3 separate regions of the Homo sapiens genome follow, and all the other regions are linked to region 1. The links are contacts of gene promoters, found by promoter capture Hi-C in blood cells and fetal thymus (Javierre and others, 2016). All regions are on one chromosome and are shown on one strand. The core of a region is centred on a gene start or on the middle of the fragment in contact, and the rest is flanking DNA. Distances in the headings are between cores, read along the strand shown. Region 1 holds the start of ELN (elastin). Region 2 has its middle 16 kb from the start of CLDN4. Region 3 holds the start of LAT2 (linker for activation of T cells family member 2).

What was found. Contacts are between HindIII fragments. The CHiCAGO score rates a contact against its expected background, and 5 or more counts as called.
Region 2: a contact is called between a fragment that was not itself captured here and the fragment with the promoter of ELN in region 1, in 1 of 17 cell types (M0 macrophages). The highest score is 5.2, in M0 macrophages.
Region 3: a contact is called between the fragment with the promoter of LAT2 here and the fragment with the promoter of ELN in region 1, in 1 of 17 cell types (erythroblasts). The highest score is 7.7, in erythroblasts.

Annotation. Positions count from the first base shown.
Region 1 is chr7:74,025,610-74,029,989 of GRCh38, forward strand. ELN (elastin) reads left to right here and starts at 2,564. Exons shown (of 33, transcript NM_000501.4): 1 at 2,564-2,660. The coding sequence starts at 2,579. RefSeq lists enhancers at 975-1,947, 2,920-3,891. The HindIII fragment of the contact is 20,716 bases long and covers 1-4,380 here.
Region 2 is chr7:73,813,170-73,817,549 of GRCh38, forward strand. No RefSeq gene overlaps it. Among named protein-coding and RNA genes, the nearest start is that of CLDN4, 16 kb to the right of the region's middle. The HindIII fragment of the contact is 2,130 bases long and covers 1,297-3,426 here.
Region 3 is chr7:74,207,914-74,212,293 of GRCh38, forward strand. It overlaps LAT2 (linker for activation of T cells family member 2), which reads left to right and starts at 2,093. Exons shown (of 14, transcript NM_032464.3): 1 at 2,093-2,175. RefSeq lists enhancers at 1,577-1,686, 2,907-3,026 and silencers at 1,967-2,016, 3,127-3,216. The HindIII fragment of the contact is 29,775 bases long and covers 1-4,380 here.

The DNA of each region.
Region 1 (4,380 bases), core at 1,314-3,813:
GAATTGAGGCCCCCTTTTGCAATCTTGTTGCATGTTATGTTCGTGGAGCTCCTGCAATGAGCAGAGGCTGCTAAGCAGAAGCAGCGCACAGGCTGGGGGCAGGACACAGGGCCCCCGGCCTCAGGGGAGAGGTCTGTTCCAGCCACCTCAAGTCTATTCCTGTGAGTGCCCCTCCACACCCCTCCTGGATCCCCCCACTGCAAACTCTCTCCCCCTGGCTCCGGACTCTCTCCCCGTCCTGGAATTAATAAAGACTCTGTGCAGACTGCGGTTTGCAAGTCTGAAAGCTGGTTCCTGCCCGTGTCACTGCCTCGAGAAGAGAGGGGTCCAGCTCCCCACAGTAGCCCCTGCCTTCCTCCTTCCCAGGCAGGCGGAGGCACGCAGATATACCATTGACTTCCCCTCCCCTGCAGCAGGCACATCCTGGGCATCGAGCTTCAGACCCTGCCCCTGAGCAGCCCCTAACCCCACCAACAAAGGGTGGCTTGGGGGGGCTTTCACCCCAGCATAATCTCCATCAGCTACCCTCAAAGCACCCCCAAATAAACACACACCGTAAGTAAGAGCTGTACACTGGCTGTGTGCGTACATCTTCAAGACAATTCTCCCAGCATGCCCCTACCTTCCAAAATTCCAGAGCTGCTCCCTCCAAAGACCCAGGGAAAAGGAAGGGTTTGTCCAGGGTCCTGGGGTGGCCCCGTATAGACCAAAGCCTGATAGCTGTCCTAGAAGCAGAGTACTTGCAGAGCGAGTGACGGCAACTGTGGTATTGACACCAGTCCTAGCACCAGCTGAACACAGAGCATTTTTGATCTAGCAGAAATACAAGACCACGTTGTATTTGTCTTTGCAATAATCTCTTAGCTAGGAATACTGATCACCTGTAGACAGATAAGGAAACTGATGCTCTGTGGAGAGGTTTTCCTACCAGAAAGGCTAGAGCCAGAAATTTACTTCTAGGTCCACCAATACCTGCCTTTGACCAATGCCTGCATTTGACCTTTCCACGCTGAGCCACCCCTGCTGGCACTCCAGACTGCCACAGTGCTCCTGCCTCCACAAGGGGTCTTTAACTCATCCCTCGGAGCCATCGTGGTGCAGGGAAAAGCCCACAGGGCGTGTGGCTTCCATGCTGTTCCCTGACTGGCTGTGACCTAGGACAAGGAACAAGTTTCCCTCTCCTATTCTCTAGGTCTCACATTTCTTCTCCTCTAGCAGTAGTGGGAAGTGAGGGGTGGGGGACACGACCCTCCCCTGTTCCATCCCACACTCCAACCCCCAAAATCCCCCAGGGTCCCCGTCCAGCTCAGTCCTGGGGGCAGAAATGCAGAGTTCTCCAGGAACGTGGTCCCAGCTGTTTCAGTGCAGGCCGCCCCCTCCTGGCCACCAGCGGAATGTCAGCCTTCCCAGAGGGGCCGGGAGAACAGCAGTCGAGAAGCTCCCAGACTGGTGTGGGCGCTAGCTGTGCTCAGCGTGGGGATGGGAGGTGACCCAGTGATAATGGGAAGCTGGGCTGCCTGTCAGTCTGCGGGGGGCTCCCACCTCCCTGTTCCCCCACAGGGCACCTGGGGATCCAGCCTGATTTTTACCAGACCCTGCGGCCTGCATGGGGCTGGGTATAGGGCTGTGACCTTGACCCATGCAGAATAGAACCCTGTGTGTCGGGATCCTCCATGTGCTCCAGATGCCCCTGGGGACAGCACCAACATGGCCTTAACTCCCAAGCCATTCCCCTGCCTCTAACCCCCTGGCATCTGCAGGCATCCACCCCAGACCCACCCAACACCTCCTCCCCAGCTTCAGGCGCTAGGCAGAGACCTTGGCCCCTGCAGAATGCAGCCCTGTCCAGGGTCCCCTACCTTCCCCCCAGATCCCTCCCAGAGCAATACCAACCCGGGCCTACCTTCCAGGCCATTCAACCTGCAGCCCCCCGGCCTCTGTAGACATCGCACCCCCCAAACCCCCAGACCTGCCCAATGCCTCCCCTCCCCAGCTTTGGGCAGAACCTGTCTCTAGCCAGACCTGGGGGTGTTGGGGAGTCTGGAGGGCCGGGGTGGGGGCTGAGGCGCGGGACAGCTGGCCCGTATCCTCACACTGGGCCCGGGGCCCAGCCGGAGGGGCGGGGGCCTGGCCACTCGGGCCTTGGCTGGGGCTGGGATTTTTGGCCTGGCCGCCAGGCCCTCCCTTCTGCTTCCTCTCCCGAGGGCTGTCCTGGCAGAGGCCCCCCTCGCTCTTTCTGGCGGGAACAGGGCCAGCAGCGAAAGAACAGTCGCAGAGGGAAAGCGGGAAAGAGATGGGGGAAAGTGTGTGTGTGTGAGTGTGTGCTTGTGTGCATGTGTGTGCGTGTGTGTGTCAAGGAAAAAAGCTCGCAGTCCAGCAGCCCGGGCCTGGGAGGCTTGTGAGCCGGGCCTTTCGTAATTGTCCCCTCCCCGCGGCCCCCTCCCCCAGGCCTCCCCCCTCTCCCGCCCTCCCGCCCGCCCTCTCTCCCTCCCTCTTTCCCTCACAGCCGACGAGGCAACAATTAGGCTTTGGGGATAAAACGAGGTGCGGAGAGCGGGCTGGGGCATTTCTCCCCGAGATGGCGGGTCTGACGGCGGCGGCCCCGCGGCCCGGAGTCCTCCTGCTCCTGCTGTCCATCCTCCACCCCTCTCGGCCTGGAGGTAAGGACCCCTCGCCCCTGTCCCCAGCGCTGCCCACAGCTGCGGGCCCTTTGGGCCAGGTGACTAGACGCTCAAGGGGGAGACCTTCGTCCCTGGGAACTGCAAGGGGTCCCAGGTGGGAGCCCCTCAGCCACTGGGTCCTCGGAACTGCCCCTCCCAGGAGCCAGCCCCGTGCCCAGGAGGAACCTGTCAAAGAGACACCCTCGACTCAGAATAGTCCCAGCCCAGCATCCAGGCTTTGCTGCCCTGCGAGGGCTGAGGGGGCCCCTGCTCAGGTGCCCGGGTGCCCGCCCTGTAGGGGGATCAGAGCATCCTGGGGGAGGGCCCAGCGGGAACCCCTGGGTCTGGAGACACCACAGTCTGCACACCTGTGGACACAGCTGGGGTGCACACCAGCCCTGGGGACAGGGAACCTGGGCTTGATACCAGCTCAACCGCAGTGAGCTGTGTGACCTCAGCAGGTTCCTTGACCCCTGGGAAGCCGGGATCCCCCCGTCAGGAAGGTCAGGGCTCCGCTGAGGATGGGTTTGCAGGTTGGGAAGCTGCTGCTGTGTTCTCCCTGCTGAGGCAGGCAGGGACTCCTGGTATGCATTTGTGTGTGTGTGTGTGTGTGCATGCACACAGGAATGAGCGTGCTGTGTGCTCGTGTGTGTATGTGTGCATGCACAGGTGTGCATGTGTTCAGATGCCCGGCTGTGTCACTGAACAGGGAAAGGGATTTCTGGAGGGGTACATATGTCTGCTCACAGGTTCATCCTTAGGCAGGTGTATGCGTATGTTTGGAGGAGGTATATGAAGCTGCTCCTTAGTGTGTGCAAAAGTCTGCCACCTGACAGACATGTAGACATGTACACATGTAGACATGGGCGATCTGGCATCCAGGTGTGACACTGGTGTGGACTGTCACTGTGTGTGTTATGGAGTGTGTACATCTGTGTGTGTGAATGTGTGTGCGATGTGGCACGCAAGCATGGAAAGGCGGGCTGGAGAAGGTGTCTGTCTCCTGGCAGAGGCAGTGTGGCTGAGACAGAGGCTGGAGTGGATCCTGGGGCACTGCTGGGCCATCTGCTATGTGCCCCAACCCAGGCACAGTTGGTTATGGGGTTTGAGGGTGTGCCCTGTGGGGCTGCTATGCCGCGGCCAACGGGGGAGGACAGAAGAGGCTCCCGGGCATGGGAAAAAGGAGGGCATTTGGTAGGGGGGTCTGGGTGGAGTCTGGTTTCCTCGGGAGTCCTCCTTGCCATGAGAACCAAACGCTGAGTGGGGGGCGGGAGGGCCACGGGGTGGAGTCAAGGGCCTGGGCAGGAGCTGCAGCTGTTTCCGTGAGATTGAACAGCTTCCTGTGCAGGGTCCGCTGCTGGACCTGGATGAGGCCAAGGGACATGGGTACCCACAGGCGGGCCCCAGCAGGGGCAACGAGCCAGGGCCTGAAAGCAGCAGCCCCGGGTCCGTCTCAGCCTCCTCCCCAGGTGTAGCCCCCAAACACCCAGCCACCCTTCTTCCCAGATGGGGCCACCACCTATAGGGTGGCAGTTCATCATCAAGGAACCTTGAGAATTAGAAATTATTATCATCACTTGACAAACAAGGAAGCTGAGGCTCCGGCAGGCTAAGGCAGTCCCCGGGGGTTAGTATCAGCCAGCTCTCTGCCCCAGGTCAAGGGGCAAGGGGGTTAGGAGTGAGCTAGCAGGCAACATTTGGGGAGGGGAAGGCTTGGGGC
Region 2 (4,380 bases), core at 1,112-3,611, 210 kb before region 1:
ATATTTCCATTGATTTCAAGAGTGTTGGCCTTTCTTGCAACATTTTGATAATAATTGCTTTAAAGTCTTGATCTGATATTTCCAATGTTTTGTCATCTCAACATTGACCACTGTTGATAGTCTTTTCTCCTGTGAGTTGAAATTCTCCCGGCTCTTTGTATGCTGAGTAATTTTGGAGTGTCTCCAAGATATTTTAAATATTAGGATATAGGAATCTGGATCTTTATACAATTCTATGGAGAATGTTGATATTTTTGTTTTAGCAGGCTGTGGTTTTTTTTTTTTTTTTTTTTTTTGGACATGCTGGACCTAGGAACCCTGAATTTCCACTACCTTGCTGTGTCTCCACACCCTTATCACAGCCCTGCGTCATCTCAGGCAGCTCTGACCACCTCCTGAATGTCCATGGCCTGACCAGAAGCCCTTGGAGAACTGCCCTATGGGTTTCTGAGTTCCTCCCTAGCATAAGTGAGTTTGGGGCTCAGTAATGTCTTGGAAACAAACTTGGGTAGACTTGATGCTTGTTATGGTTACACACCCTGGTTACACATTATGCTAAGTGAAAGAAACCAGACACAAAGCCTCTATAATATGTGATTATTGATTCCATGATTCTGGACATTTCATAGACCTATGATTCCATGCCTACTTTGAAATGTCCAGAATAGGCAAATCCATCATGACAGAAAGATTAATCACTTAGGGATATATGAAATATATGGAATAGGGATAAAGGGTTTGGAATTTCTCTTTTTGTTAAGAAACAGGGGCTTACTCTGTCACCCAGGCTGGAGTGCAGTGGCCCAGTCATGGCTCACTGCAGCTTCAAGCTTCTGGGCTTGGGCCAGGCACGGTGGCTCATGCCTGTAATCCCAGCACTTTGGGAGGCTGAGGCAGGTGGATCACCTGAGGTCAGGGGTTCGAGACCAGCCTGGCCAACATGGTGAAACCTTGTCTCTACTAAACATACAAAAATTAGCTGGGCTTGGTGGCATGTGCCTGTAATCCCAGCTACTTGGGAGGTTGAGTCTGGAGAATTGCTTGAAACTGGGAGGAGGAGGTTGCAGTGAGCTGAGATCGCACCCCTGTACCCCAGCCTGGGTGACAGAGTGAGACTCCATCTCAAAAACAAAAATAAAAAACCCCAAAAACTTCTGGGCCGGAGTGATCCTCCCTCCTCAGCCTCCAGAATAGCTGAGGCAGCTTTATTGAGCTATAACTGTTTACCAGTGGTTCTGGGTTCAAATTCTAACTCCACTAGCTGTGTGACTCTGGGTGAGTCACTTTAATCCACCAAGCTTCTGTGTCCTGCGGGTTAATAGTGTCTGTGGGGGGCCAGCCTGGCATTGGACAGGCATTCGAGAAGTGCTAATTATTGTTTTTGAAGCAGCTTTATTGACATAGAAGTCACATATCATACAATTCCCCCTTTCAAAATGCACATTTCAATGGCTTTTAGGATACTCACAGAGGTGTGCAACCATCATCACGGTCAATTTTAGAACATTTTCATCACTACAAAGAGAAACTACAAACAAGAGCTGGGTGTAGTGCCTTATGTCTATAATCCCAGCAGTTTGGGAGGCCAAGGTGGAAGGATCACTTGATGCCAGGAGTTCAAGACCAGCCTGGGAAACATAGCAAGACCCTGCCTCTACCAAAAAAAAAAAAAAAAATTTAACTGGGCATGTTGGCATGCACCTGTGGTTCCAGCTACTCAGGAAGCTAAGGCTGGATGGTCACTTGAGCCCCAGGAGATTAGGGCTGCAGTGAACTATGATCGCACCACTGTACTCCAGCCTGGGTGTCAGAGTAAGACCCTGTCTCTAAAAAATAAAAAATAGAAAAGAGCTGGGTGTAGCAGCTTACATCTGTAATCCCAGCACTTTGGGAGGCCGAGGTGGGCGGATCACCTGAGGTCAGGAGTTTGAGACCAGCCTAACCAACACGGAGAAACCCCGTCTCTACTAAAAATACAAAATTGGCTGGGCGTGGTGGTGTGCTCCTGTAGTCCCAGCTACTCGGGAGGCTGAGGAAGGAGAATTGCTTGAACCCGGGTGGCGGAGGTTGCAGTGAGCCGAGATCACGCCATTGCACTCCAGCCCAGGTATCAAGAGCGAAACTCCGTCTCAAAAATAAAAATAAATAAATAAATAAATAATTGTTACTGGCCTTGTCCTCCAAGATAAAAAGGTCTGATCTCTCCCCAGTCCATCCAGAACACAGAGAAGGGAAATAATTGGGAAGGTCATTTTGGACCAGACTCATCCATGGTGATGTTAGATGGGACAGGGAATGCCACATCCCCAAAAGCGGTGAAGCCAGACGTACAGGGTGCTGGGTCAGATGCTGGAGAGAGAGCAGGGAATTGTGGCTTTGGTGGTCACGGAGCTGGGGACATGGGGACAGGGAGAGCCTTGTGTGTGTGTTCGCTGGTATGACCCAGCCCTTGGGTAGCTCTGGGGCCTGGGCAAGGATGGGCTGGATGAGGAAGCCAGGCAAGGAAGCAGGTCCATCCTGCCTTGAGCTGATCGTCTGCTGCCTCTGTCCCCTTGCCGTCCCCGCACTGTCCCTGGGCTGGCACACCTGCACTGAAGCTCTTCTCAGCATCTCACCCTGAAGATTCTGGCTTCTCTGGATGACTTCGACCCTTTTGTGCTGCTATAAAGGAATACTTGAGGCTGGATAAGGTTTTTTTTTTTTTTATACTTTACGTTCTAGGGTACATGTGCACAACCTGCAGCTTTGTTAGATATGTAGACGTGCCATGTTAGAGTGCTGCACCCATTAACTCATCATTTACATCAGGTATTTGTCCCAATGCTATCCCTCCCCCTTCCCCCCAAGGCTGGATAAATTTATAAGGAAAGAGGTGTATTTGGCTCATGGTTCTGCAGGCTGTACAGGACGCATGGTGCCAGCATCTGCTGCTTTTTTTTTTTTTTTTTTTTTTTAGACAGAGTCTCATTCTGTTCCTCCAGAGCTGGAGTGCAGTGGTGCAATCTGGGCTCACTGCAACCTCCACCTCTTGGGTTCAAGCAATTCTCCTGCCTCAGCTTCCTGAGTAGATGGGACTACAGGTGTTCACCACCACGCCCAGCTAATTTTTGTATTTTTAGTAGAGACGGGGTTTCTCTATGTTGGCCAGGCTGGTCTCGAAATCTGCCTCTTTATGAGAGACAAGGTTTCACTCTGCTGCCTGGTGGGAGTGCAGTGGTGAGATCCTAGCTCACTGCTGCCTCCAACTCCTTGGCTCAAGTGATCCTCCCACCTCAGCCTCCCAAGTAACTGGGACTATAGGTGTGCACTGGTACACCTGGCTAATTAAAAAATGTCCTTTTTTTTTGAGATGGAATCTCACTACGTTGCTCCGGCTGGTCTTGAACTTCTGGGCTCAAGTAATCCTCCCCAGCCTTGGCCTCCCAAAGCTTTGGATTCACAGGCGTGAGCCACCTCGCCCAGCCAGCACCCGTTTATGGTGAGAACCTCAGGAAGTTTCCAAAGGTGTTTGCAGATCACATGATGACAGAAGAAGGTAGAGAGAGTTGGTGGGGAGTGGGGCAAGGAGGTGGCAGGCTCTCTTCAACAACCAGTTCTTGCAGGAACTAAGAGTGAGAACTCGCTCCCTTCTGCAAGAATGGTACCAAGCCGTTCATGAGGGATCTGTTCCCAGAACCCAGACACCTCCCACCAGATCCAACTCCAACACTGGGGATCAATTTTCAACACTGGGCTGGGTGAGGTGACTCAAATCTGTAATCCCAGCACTTTGGGAGGCCGAGGTGGGCGGATCACCTGAGGTCAGGAGTTTGAGACCTGCCTGACTAACATGGTGAAACCCTGTGTCTACTAAAAATACAAAAATTAGCTGGGTGTGGTGGCGCATGCCTGTAATCCCAGCTACTCAGGAGGCTGGGGCAGGGGAATCACTTGAACCCGGGAGACGGATGTTGCAGTGAGTCGAGATCACGCCATTGCACTCCAGCCTGGGCAACAAGAGCAAAACTCCATCTCGGGAAAAAAAATTTCAACATGAGATTTCAAGTGGACAAATATGGAAACCATAAACCATAGCACCGGCCCCTCCACCTCCAGTTGCCCTCTCTCACCTTCTTTCAGCCACACCTCCCAGGCCCCAGGTCCTACCCCAGCTCTCCCATGCCTCCGGGCCTTTGCCACATGTTTTTCCACCTAGGAGGTGAGTTCCTCCTACTCACTCACCTGACTCTCCCCTTCTTAATTTTTCTCTCCAGTTTTTATTTTGCAAACTTAAAACCAGGCTGGCTGGGCGCAGTGGCTCACACTTGTAATCCTAGCACATTGGGAGGCCAAGGTGGGTGGATTGCTTGAGCCCAAGAGTTCAAGACCAGCCTGGCCAAC
Region 3 (4,380 bases), core at 843-3,342, 180 kb after region 1:
CCATCCACACAGACATGAGGACCGAGTGAGATAGTTCCCTGTGGAGGCCAGGATGCTCTGGCACCTGAGGTCAATAAAGCCACATCCCACAAGTGGGTGGACTGCCTTGTGCTATTGACCATTAAACAGCTGCCCAAGGCCATTGAGCTATTAATTAAATAATAATTATTATTATTTTAAATTTTTTTGTTGTGTTTTTTGGGTTTTTTTGTTTTTGTTTTGTTTTTTTGAGATGGAGTCTCGCTCTGTTGTCCAGGCTGTAGTGCAGTGGCACGATCTTGGCTCACTGCAAACTCCGCCTTCTGGGCTCAAGTGATTCTCCTGCCTCAGCCTCCCAAGTAGCTGGGATTACAGGCACCCACCATCACACCCGGCAAATTTTTGTATTTTTAGTAGAGATGGGGTTTCACCATTTTGGCCAGGCTGGTCTCAAACTCCCGACCTAAATAAGGTGATCCACCTGCCTTGGCCTCCCAAAGTGCTGGGATTACAGATGTGAGCCACCACGCCCGGCCTATTTATTGTTTTTACAGACAGACAGGGTCTTGCTGTCCCCCAGGCTGGAGTGCAGTGGCAGAGTCACGGCTCACTGCAGCCTCCAACTCTTGGGCTCAAGAAATCCTCCCGTTTTGGCCTCCCAAAACACTGGGACTACAGGTGTGTGCCACCACACCCAGCTAATTAAAAAAATTTTTTTAGAGATGGGGTCTCGTTCTGTTGTCCAGGCTGGTCTCAAATTCCTGTTCTCAAGCGATCCTCCTGCCTCAGCCTCCAAAAATGTTAGGATTGCAGGTGCAAGCCACTGCACCTGGCCTCTATCTCCCTGTTTCTTGCTCTCTCCCCATCTGTGTGTGTCTCTGACAGTCTGTGGCTCTCTGTATCTTTCTGTGTGTCTCTCTGTGTGTGTCTTGGTCCATCTCATGCCCAGCTAATTTTTAAATTTTTTGTAGAGATGGGGTTTCACCATGTTGGCCAGGCTGGTCTTGAACTCCAGACCTCAGGTGATTCTCCTGCTTCAGCCTCCCAAAGTGTTGGGATTACAGGCATGAGCCACCGTGCCTGGCCCATGGGTATGAATTTCTGCCTGTGTGTGTCTTCTTCTTTTTTTTTTTTTTTTTGAGATGAAGTCTTGCTCTGTCACCCAGGCTGGAGTGCAGTGGCGCTATCTTGGCTCACTGCAACCTCCACCTCCTGGGTTCAAGCAATTCTCCTGCCTCAGCCTCCCGAGTAGCTGGGATTACAGGCACCCGCCACCACACCCAGATAATTTTTGTATTTTTGGTAGATATGGGGTTTCACCATGTTGGTCAGGCTGGTTTTGAACCCCTGACTTCATGACCTGCCTGCCTTGGCCTCCCAAAGTGCTGGGATTACAGGCATGAGCCACCGCGCCCGGCCCATGGGTGTGAATTTCTGCCTGTGTGTGTCTTTTTAGCGTATGTGTGTCTCCATATCTGCCATCTGCAGGAGCACCTCAGTTTCATTATCTTGCTCCCTGTCTATTGGAGTGTATCTCTCTTCCTCTCTGTGTGACTTTTTGTGTTTATGTGTGTGTTTAGTGTGTGTCCATATTTTCCTGTTCTCTTGTGTCTCTCTGCTGTGTCTCTCTCTTTTTCTTTCTGTTTTTTGAGACGGAGTCTCCCTCTGTCACCCAGGCTGGAGTGCAGTGGTGCGATCTCGGCTCACTGCAACCTCTGCTTCTGAGGTTCAAACGATTCTCCTGCCTCAGCCTCCCGAGTAGCTGGAATTACAGACACATGCCACCATGCCCAGCTAATTTTGTATTTTTAATAGAGACGGGGTTTCACCATGTTGGCCAGGCTGGTCTTAAACTCTTGACCTTACGTGATCCACCCGCCTCGGCCTCCCAAAGTTTTTGGATTACAGGTGTGAGCCACCTCGCCCGGTCCTATCTCTCTTTCTTCTCTTTCTCCCTCTCACTTTGTTTCTCTTCTCTCTCTCTCTCCCGCCTCCTTCCCCCGTCTCCCCTCCCTTCCCCCCACCGCCCTCTTCATAGCTGAGCCTGTCCGGCAGTGCGGCGGATGTACGGATGATTCAGTGGCTGGCAGGAAGCCCGCCCTGCCCGCCCGCCAGTGTCAGTGGTGTTGGCATCAGCTTGGGCAGGTGTGCGGGCTCAGGATGGGGCGGCCGTGGTGAGGAACCCTGGACTCTCAGGTAAGCCTTTCCCAGGGGTGCCTCAGTCCTCAGGCTGTCCCCCATCCCCCAGGAGCTCCTGGCCCCACTGGGTGGGGTGGGAAGAGGCCTGGATGCCTGGCGCCCCCTCCCGCAGCCCCACTCTCACCCTGGCACCAGGCTCTGTGGCACTTCAGGGGTCAGTTTGTTTCTGGGCTTCTGGCCACTCTCTTGCCCTCGCCTTCCCCTGTCCAGCCTGTGTAGCCTTGGGACATCCCAGGGTGGTCCCATCATTGCCAGAGACTGGTGAAGTAAGTGGCCGAGAGCCAAAACAGTGGCTGCCCTGGCCTGGGAGCCTCGGTTTCCTCATCCGTGAAATGGGACTGTAACCCCCTACACAGGTCAGGGGAAAACGGTGGGATTACAGGCCAGGGCCCAGGTCTTGCCCCAGGTCAGGTGAAGAACCCCCACTGCCTCCCTGCCCAGCCCCCTACCTGGCCCTCAACTCTGTCCCTGGGACCAGGGCTGCTCAGGCCCCTCCTGCACCCGCCCGCCTCCCTCTCTCCCTCCCAGCTAGGCTCATTTGAAGCCCAGAGTTATTTGGAAAAAGCAACAGGACCAGCCGGGCACGGTGGCTCAACCTGTAATCCCAGCATTTGGGGAGGCCAAGGCGGGAGGATCATTTGAAGTCAGGAGCTGGAGACCAGCCTGAGCAACATAGTGAGACTCCCATCTCTTTAAAAAATAAAAATAAAAAAATATAATTAAAAACTAAATGAAAAAACCAACAGACCCCAGAGCAGAGTCCAGTGGATAAAGCCATCCAGGGCTTCAAGCCAGGCTGCCCCCTCCCCAACCCCAGTGTCCCCAACCACAGCTCAGCTCGGAGAAGGCTGGGAGAACCGGCAGGGTGGTCTCGAGCGTCCTTCCAGGCGGGATTCAGACACTGTAGCTCCTCCAGCCCAGCCCCGAGAACTTCCCCGAAGCCAGCTCTTGGCAATCGTTGTTCATATGAAAACTGCCCACTTCCCTTTAGTGCTATTTTGGCCTCTGCAGAACCGTGGTCTGTGGCAGCCCCCACTCCCCACCCCGCCCAGCCCTGCCGGCCCCTGGGGGCCTCAGAGGGTCCACCCTCCGCTCCCTCCACCTCAGCCCACCTGCTTTCAGAACCTGGATGGGAGAGTGAAAGTGAGAGCGAGACAGAGACACAAAGGGAGACAGAGACAGAGAGAGAGCACAGAATTTTTTTAAACGGAGTCTCACTCTGTTGTCCAGGCTGGAGTGCAGTGGCGTGATCTCGGCTCACTGCAACCTCCACCTCCCAGGTTCAAGCAGTTCTCCTGCCTTACCCTTCCAAGTAGCTGGGGACTACAGGCACGTGCTACCACACCTGGCTAATTTTTTATTTTTTATTTATTTTTTATTTTTTGGAGACAGTCTTGCTCTGTCTCCCAGGCTGGGAGTGCAGTGGTGCAATCTTGGCTCACTGCAAGCTCCACCTCCCGGGTACATGCCATTCTCCTGCCTCAGCCTCCCGAGTAGCTGAGACTAGAGGCGCCTGCCACCACGACCGGCTAATTTTTTGTATTTTTAGTAGAGACGGGGTTTCGCCATGTTAGCCAGGATGGTCTCAATCTCCTGACTTTGTGATCTGCCTGCCTCGGCCTCCCAAAGTGCTGGGATTACAGGTGTGAGCCACCGTGCCTGGCCTAATTTTTTATTTTTAGTAGAGACAGGGTTTCACCATGTTGGCCAGGCTGGTCTTGAACTCCTGACCTCAGATGATTTGCCCGCCTCAGCCTCCCAAAGTGTTGGGATTACAGGTGTGAACTACCGCACCCGGCCAACAGCGCAGGATGTATTCAGTCTGGGGGCAGACACATGACTGTTTGTTAAATTTCATTTTTTGTTTTTAGAGATGGGGTCTTGCTCTGTCACCCAGGCTGGAGTTCAGTGGTGTGATCTTGGCTCACTGCAGCTTCCAACTCCTGGGCTCAAGCAATTCTCTTGCCTCAGTGTCCCAAGTAGCTGGAACCACAGGCATGTGCCACTGCGCCTGCCTAATTTTTTCATTTTTTTGTAGAGACAGGGCCTTGTTACATCGTCCATGCTGGTCTCGAACTCCTGGCCTCAAGCGATCCTCCTGTCTCGGCCTCCCAGTGTTGAGATTACAGGCGTCAGCCACCACGCCCAGCCTGATCCCATTTTATTTATTCATTTATTTAATTTATTATTATTATTATTATT